Linked DNA regions of Homo sapiens: region 2 is linked to region 1. Evidence: promoter capture Hi-C in 16 types of primary human blood cells and fetal thymus (Javierre and others, 2016). All regions are on one chromosome and are shown on one strand. Each heading gives the region's core, a stretch centred on a gene start or on the middle of the fragment in contact. The rest is flanking DNA. Distances are from core to core; before and after follow the strand shown. Region 1 holds the start of POLR1A (RNA polymerase I subunit A). Region 2 overlaps ST3GAL5 (ST3 beta-galactoside alpha-2,3-sialyltransferase 5).

Region 1 (4,437 bases), core at 898-3,397:
ATAGTGGAGGAAGACAAATATACATAAGCACAAAAAGTCACTAAAGCACCATGACAGACAACTGTATCATGTGCAAAATGACCTCACAAAACAAGGGAGGTGAACTGAGCTTTCAGGTGTGTATGTTGGGTAGGGGACAGAGGGAAGTACCTCCTTTTGGCTGAAAGGACACTGCATGCAGAGGGAATAGCTTAAAGAAAGGCCCAGATGTTGAAATATGATGGCGGTTTCTGGAATATGCAGGTGGTTTAATAGGGCTGAAGAAGGGATGATGTTATAGCTAAAATCAGCATTGGTCTGATCATGGGAGACTTTGCAGGCTATGCTAAGAAAATATACTTTATCTGAGGGAAATGGAGAACATTTGGAGGGTTTTAAGGGTGACAGTAGCATGACTACATTTGCACTTTGCAAGAATAATTTTGACAGCAGTGTGGAGCATGCACTTGAGAGGTGTAAGGGGAGGGTGGAAGGAAAAGACAATTCAAATATGAGATAAGGGCCAGAGGCAACACAGTAGCAATTGGGAGAAAAAGGAGACTAAGAACAAATAGACATGTAGGTGACACAAAGTAAGAGCCCAATAAATAAGTTATATGTCAGGAGAGATCTAGAATAATTTTCCAGTTTCTAGTGACTATTTTGCACTACGTACACCATTTTGGAGGGGTAAGTAACCCCTCCCTTTGAAGAGGGATGCCGTGTTGAGTTTTTTTTTTTTTTTTTTTGAGACAGAGTATTGCTCTGTCGCCAGGCTGGAGTGCAGTGGCACAATCTCGGCTCACTGCAACCTCCGCCTCCTGGGTTCAAGCGATTCTCCTGCCTCAGCCTCCCGAGTAACTGGGACTACAGGTGCCCGCCACCACGCCCAGCTAATTTTTGTATTTTTAGTAGAGACGGGGTTTCACCATGTTGGCCAGGGATGGTCTCGATCTCCCGACCTCGTGATCCGCCGGCCTCGGCCTCCCAAAGTGCTGGGATTACAGGCGTGAGCCACCGTGCCCGGCCATGTTGAGTTTCTGATATGCATTTAGGCCATGTTGAGTTTTTGATATGCATTTAAGATCTCTGTGTGAAATTCAATTAAAGATGTACAGACAGCTGAACAAATGGGTCTGAAAATCAGGGAAATAAATTTGCGTTGGGGATTTAAATTTGAGACTATAAATCATGAAAGTGGTGAGATTGTCTAGGGACAATATTTACCATGAAGAAAACATTACTAGAATAGAATCTTGAAGAACATCAACATTTAAGGAGTAAAATGAGGTACAGACCTTGCTCACCAATGTGTCATTAACGCCTAGCTTGGTGCCTGGAAAAAACTGGATGCTCAATAAATGTTTGTGAGGTTATAGATCGATAGAGGAAGAGAGGGAGGTAGAAGTATTTGTCATAAAAATAGGAGAACTTGAAGACAAATAAGGTTCTGGAAGAAAGGAAAGTTTCAAGAGAGTGCATTGGAGAATGTCAAATGCTACCTTGATCAAAATGAAGACTAAAGAGAGTTCCCTTGATTTAACAACCAGACCGAGAATATAGCAGGGTCCTAGCAAAGAGAAGTTAACGCCTGAACTGACACTTGAAGGACAATCATTTTACAAACAAGAGGAAACTTACTACGTGCCTAATTAACCATGTCAGGTACACTATGGTTAATTCCACAAATGCTTGTTAGTTAACGAGGAGACTGGCAGATGATAACGCTGCAGACCAGGACCCTCCCCACCCTTATATTCCCCTACCTCAGCGCAAACTCTTTCCCCCAGCACCACCGGCCTCTTATCCAGGCAGTCCACGCCGGCCCAGGAACGTTCCCAGAACTACGGCTCCCAGCAGGACAAGCGCCAGACAAGCCTGGACTCAAGAGGATAGACTGGGCAAAAGCGCTTCTGGGAATCGTAGTTTAGGGCGCCGACCTCAAGATCCAGGCTGGGCACGCTACCCGACCAACTCCTTACTTGAGCTCTTCAGCCGAATACATCCCGAAGGAAATGCCCTGCAGCCGCCGCCAGGGCATGTTCTTGGAGATCAACATCCTCCAGGTCCGTTTTGAATTCCGACACCCCAAGAGACGTTCCACTCACCACCTGACTATTCTTAATTCAACCTCAAGCCCGGAGTCACCACGCGATTCAACGTGCGCTTGCGCGCGGAAGCGGTCGCAGGAACGACATTTACGTGGATGAGATCACTTCTACATGGGGGGGGAACAAATAGTTGTACGACTCTCTGCTCGCTCTTTTGTTTTGAAAACAATCAAAGATATATAAGACATCAAAATAATCATTTAGGAAAATTCCTCCGAGGCAAATCGGGTGTATAGAGCTTTTAGCTTCCGTGACGAAGTCTTTCAAACCATGAGCTTGCAACCTCCCATTTTATGATTGCTTTCGTCTTCTTCCGCTTCAGCCAATAGCGGAGCTGTTCCCTGCTCCCCGCCCACTGCGCCCCACCTTCCTGAAGGTCGAGGCACGCTTTCCCAACATGCTCTGCAGAGAAATCAAAGATGGCGGTTGTATCTGCTGTTCGCTGGCTGGGCCTCCGCAGCAGGCTTGGCCAGCCGCTGACGGGTCGGCGGGCGGGTTTGTGTGAACAGGCACGCAGCTGCAGGTAAGAGACGCTTAGGGTATCCGCGAAGAAGACCGCGGAGTCACCTTAGTCCTATGTTTCCCAGCTGGCTGTGGAAGTAGGCACGATGAAATGGTTTGCTCATGCGCGCCCTTAACGGTCGCGTGCCCTTAAGACCAGGTACGCGGAGGTGGCCCTTTGAAATAGGATTCGCAACGCATTTATTCATTAGAGAAATACTTATTGGTTGCTTGCAATATTCTGTAGTTAACACCATCCGCAAAGCTAGGACCCTGCTCTCATGAAGCTTGCGTTCCAGTGAGTGTGGCTATTAGCAACACTACCCCAAATTAAAAATTATCCGCCATTACTCATTTTAACCCAATCAGGAGGAGCGAGGAGAACGTACAAGATCTTCCCAAATAAAAGGCAGTCTCTGGTCGCCACCGTGGGGACTTTGGCTAAAGAAGTTATCAGGTTTTCGTAAAAGCAGAAAAGTCTAAAAGATCTGACTATGCCCTTTTGATCTGTGATAGTTATAGCTTGGAACATGTATGACCTATCTGTGTAATTTTTTTTTCACTCAGTACAAACAGTGGCATTGTGGGAATATGAGAGGCAGTAATTTGTAGTGAAAACTTGCTAAAAGCCTAATTTTAGGTTTAGTGTTTGCCATTCACTTAATTGGATGATAATAGACAGATTTCCTCATCTGCAGACTAGAGTTGGTAATAACCATCCGAAAAGTTTGTGAGGTATAAGTGGGGTATGTAATTTACAATATGTTTTTATATGTACTCTCCCTTAGTTCCCCTCAAGAAAGAGAAACCACTCCATCTGATACTGCAGAAACCTTTGTGCTGCCATTCAATGCCAGTCCTCCGTTTCCTGGTAGCCATCGTTAGCATTTTTCTACTCATTTTCTTTGCCTGAAGCAGAATCTCTTCCTCAGCATCCGTTCTCAAAATAACTGTGATCTCTGTTTTAAGGTCATGAGAAACAAATAGTGTGACTTGAAAGAGTTGATCTCAGAAACTTGAAAGAGTTGATCTCTTTCTGAAATGTCCTTAACGTAGAGGGGTATTCTTGTTTTAAATGATACCTGAAACCAGATACTACTGGAGGAAGTATCTGTCTGTGCAATCACATCTTGACAATTTTCTGAATGTTACTGATGCCATTTAGTAAGGGGAAACACAAGATAATACTAACCGTCACATTATCTGTGGTGTGTTGACTGTGTTTTTAGTGTGATCAGAACACTTAAACAGAACACTTAAAAACTCAGTCATGGGCCAATGATTCTATATTTTGGTTTAAAAAGGATTTCATATTGAACCTCTGAAAATAGAAAATATCAGCAATTCCAAGTCTAAATCAGGCCTTATGTATTTGGTACATTCTTGATTGTTGAAAGAAGTGGAATGAGAAGCCATGGGTCATCTTCCCTATGTTGTAATTGCTTTAAGTGAGGTAGTCCTTTCTGATCAGGGCAGTATCTGTATAGAAGCAAGAGCTCACTGAATTGTTCTTTTAAACATCATAGTGTTTTGGGTTCCTGAAGTTGAAAGTTCTTCATTTCAAACCAGATTGTTCAAGTGCTATTAAAAACTTTCCTCCCTCTCTGCCATTTATGTAATGAGATTGCTTGCTTCCAAAACTTTTGTCTAGCCGGGCATGGTGGCATATGCCTGTAGTCCTAGTTACTCAGGAGGCTGAAGCAGGAGGGTCACTTGAGCCCAGGAGTTCAAGGGTTCAGTGAGCTATAATTGCACTACTTCACTAAAGGCTAGGCAATGGAGCAAGACCCTGTCTCTAAAAAAAAAAAAAAAAAAGTTTTGACAGTCTTGTCCATATCTTGTATCC
Region 2 (3,835 bases), core at 710-3,209, 240 kb before region 1:
TTGCATCCATACCATGGAATAGTAACTGGCAATAAAGAAGAATGAACTGTTGTTACATGCAACAAAGTGGGTGAATCTAGAGGGAACTATGCTGAGCTGATACCAAAATGTTACATACTGTATGATTCTCAACATTCTTTTTTTTTTTTTTCTGAGACGGAGTCTTGCTCTGTTGCCCAGGCTGGAGTGCAGTGGCGTGATCTCAGCTCACTGCAACCTCTGCCTCCTGGGTTCGAGTGACTGTCCTGCCTTAGCCTCCTGAGTGGCTGGGATTACAGGCGCATGCCACCATGCCAGGCTAATTTTTGTATTTTTAGTAGAGACAGGGTTTCACCCTGTTAGTCAGGCTGGTGTCGAACTCCTGACCTCGTGATTCACCTGCCTCGGCCTCCCAAAGTGCTGGGATTACATGCATGAGCCACTGCACCCGGCTGATTTTTAACATTCTTAAAATGACAAAATTATAGAAAGGGAGAACAGACTAGTGAGTGTCAGGGGTTGTGGAAGGGGAGGTAGATAGGTAGATATGGCTATAAAAGGGCAACACGAAGGACTCTTGTGAGGATGGAGATGTTCTACATCTTGACTGTATCCATGTCAGATTCCAGCTGTGATATGGTACTATAGTTTTGCAGGATGCTATCATGGGGGAAAATGAGTAAAGCATACACAAAATCTCTCCAGATTATGTTTTACAACCGCATGTGAATACAATTATCCTAAACTTTAAAGTTTATTTTTTTTAAAAAGGACCTTTTACCTTTTAGAGCTACATACAGAAATATCTACAGATCAAATAGCAAAAATGAGATCTGCTTCAAGAACTCAGGAAGGGGATAAGTGGAGGGCCAGGGAGAATAGATAAAACTAACTTTAAGCTGATAACTTACTAAACCTGGGAGATGGGTCTAGGGCTCACTACACAATTCTCCCCACTTCTGTGTATGGTTAAAATTTATATAATAAAAAAGTTTAAAAAGAAAGTTACATTAAAAGCAGAAGTGTTACATCAAAAAAAAAAAAGAAAAAGAGAGAATATGGCAATTTAAAAACACTTTTCTTAAAAAATATGTTGTGTGCCTGCCTATTTATTCTTTTGAAATAATTTTATTAGCAATTTTCAAGTTCTAAATAATATTCCAATAGTACTGTAGTAGGGATTGGTCCGTCTCCCCCATATTCGCTTTCCCCTAACTCAACTTAATACAGCTCTGGATTTTTAGTGGGGCATAGTACCTCCCAGAATGAAGACTACATTTCCCAGTCTCCCTTGGAGCTAGGACTCAAGACTAAGTTTTAGCCAATGGGATATGAGCAGAAGCATCCTGTGCAATTCTCAAGGTGCTTCCCTTGGCATACTCTGGCTTCTCCTGTATCCCCTCTGCCTCCTGACTGAAATATGGACCATGATCTGCCACTCTGGACCACACAGAGAGGACATTACTCAAGGATGGTGGAACAACAAGAGAAGGAGCTGGGGCCCCTGGGACAATCCCATAGGGCAGAGAGCTGCCACTCTACTTCTGGACTGGTCTATGATAGAGGAATAAGCTTCTGTCTTGTTTAAGGAATGGTTAATTAAAGGCAAAATTATATCTTAACTAATATAGGCACTAGTTACTATTATAATAAATGCATATATTAATTTAAGAAATAATGTCTTCACTATAGTTTTTAGTTGGATGGAAGAAGTTATATCTCATTCATTATTCACTTCATTTTTCCCGTTAGGGTTTTACCATCTTCTTTGAAAAAAATCTGTTTATCTTAAACTAAACAGGCATTCAAGTTTTTTTTTTCTGCTACTGTAAACAATCTCTTCCTTAACTCCTTAATTCTAATTCTGTGTAGCAAGAGTTTTTATCATTATGTATAATTCTATCAAAATAGTTTCAATAAGTGTTGAGGGCCTTATTAATAAACCTTTGCTGAAGAATCTGCTGAATTATTAAATGAGAAGTTAGAACAACTGAGATCCTGGAAGGTTTTCAAATACCACAATTCTGTGGTTACTTCATGTACAGTCAGCCAAGTGGTGGGAATCAGCAGGCTACCTGTAGCCTGTGCATATTTAAAATGGAAACTTCTGAGATGACTGGAATGATACTCAGTTCACACCAAAGTGGACCTCCAGAGAACAAAGATGACTGTGGTAAGAGTATGAGAAAGACTCCAGGGCTTCCGCCTCCAGGTGCTCTGTTGCTGAGCCAGACAGTGCTCTGGCTCTTGTTCTACTCTGCCCGTCAGACTATAAGCCTGTAAATATTTTCCGAACTCTCTCTTACCAGCTGGCTTCTCGTAAAGTTGTGATCCTAGGATGTGCTGGTGAAAGACTGGGAGGCAATCTTTCTTTTCCCCTGACTTGGTGAAGCTTTGGATAGCAGTAGTAGCAGGCAAGGGAAGGTGTCTACATGTGACTCCTGCAGCAGTCGTGTGCATTCGGATTCTTGGGTTTTTAGGCAGCAGATGCTGTGGCACTTCCAGTAACTTTGTGACAAGTACAAGCTTCAGACTAGGGGTGACAATGGCTCCCTGAAGACCAAATCCATCTCTCTAATGTGGACCTCTCACCTAAGCCCAGACCTGTATACCTAATGTCTTGTTTGCTATCTTCACCTCAAGCAACATTCCTAAATGGAACCTGGCATTTTCTTCTATTCCTTTCATTCTTTGGTATCTGAACCATCTGTTCAGCCATAAGATGAAAACCTGCAGGTCAACCAGACTTTCATTCTCAACCCCAGTCAATCCCCAGGGCCTGCCAATAATACCTCCTGAATTTTTCCTGTTCACTACATGCCTTTAATAGAAGTCACTTACCTCGAATGCCCTGATCTCAATTTTATCGCCTCAAAGCCGTCTTTCAAAAATACATATCTGCCTACTGGTTCCCAGCTTATTTCAGATTCTGTGACTCCATGTGACAAACCTGTCTATCACACTGCACAAAGAAGTACTGTTAGAAACCTGGATGTGCCAAATTGTTACTTCAGTGCCTTTGCACAGGATGTGCTCACAATCTGGAATCCCACCCAATAATCTGCCTGCTGAGCTACTTTTCATCCTTAAACCCAGCTCAAGCATCTCTTTCCTTATCTCTGAGGTCATTTTTCACCACCACATCCATCCCTGGGCACGTCCCTATCTCTGTTTACCACAATGAACTGAATTTTCTTTTGCAGACTCCTGGAGGAATGAGCTGCAGAGCCAGAACTCTGTTCACCTTTGTATCCCTAAAACCTAGGACAGAGATTGGCACACAGCAGCCCCTTAAGAAACATCTCGAATGGAATGAAATGTGCATTACATGTTTGTAGCCTGTCATCAAACAAGATAAACTTCCAAGAAAAGCATTTTCTCAATACTGATTAAGAGTAAAACTAAAACTGAATGTTAACAGAAATTATAATGGCAAGAATAAAGCATAAACTCTATTGAAACATCTAAAATGGCTGGGTGTGGTAGCTCACACCTTTGGGAGACGGGGATGGGATGATCACTTGAGGCCAGGAGTTTGAGACCAGCCTGGGCAACACAGTGAGACCCTGCCTCTACAAAAAAATAATAATAAATGAAACATCAAAAATGTCCAACAGCAGGAAATTTGTTGGTAAATTACAGCACAAACTACATGAATACTCTACAGTCCTTAAGATCTTGCTACACAGCAGGGTCTCTGACTGACAGCATCAGTGTAACCTGGAAGTGGGTTAGAAATGCAGAGTCTCAGGCCCGCCCCAGTCTTGCTGACTCAGCATTTTAATGAGATCCTGGGACATTCATATGCATATTAAAGTTTGAGAAGCACTAGCTTAAAGTACTCAGTACTTCACAT

The links. The method cuts DNA at HindIII sites, captures the fragments that hold promoters and counts their contacts. A CHiCAGO score of 5 or more calls a contact.
Region 2: a contact is called between a fragment that was not itself captured here and the fragment with the promoter of POLR1A in region 1, in 16 of 17 cell types (total B cells, naive CD8 T cells, naive B cells and 13 more). The highest score is 15.6, in total B cells.

What each region holds. Positions count from the first base shown.
Region 1 is chr2:86,103,739-86,108,175 of GRCh38, forward strand. It overlaps POLR1A (RNA polymerase I subunit A), which reads right to left and starts at 2,148. Exons shown (of 34, transcript NM_015425.6): 1 at 1,962-2,148. The coding sequence starts at 2,038. PTCD3 (pentatricopeptide repeat domain 3) reads left to right here and starts at 2,497. Exons shown (of 24, transcript NM_017952.6): 1 at 2,497-2,613. The coding sequence starts at 2,510. RefSeq lists enhancers at 1,668-1,757, 1,958-2,167, 2,548-2,807. The HindIII fragment of the contact is 4,349 bases long and covers 1-2,876 here.
Region 2 is chr2:85,863,573-85,867,407 of GRCh38, forward strand. All of the region lies in intron 1 of ST3GAL5 (ST3 beta-galactoside alpha-2,3-sialyltransferase 5), which reads right to left. Among named protein-coding and RNA genes, the nearest start is that of ST3GAL5, 24 kb to the right of the region's middle. The HindIII fragment of the contact is 820 bases long and covers 1,550-2,369 here.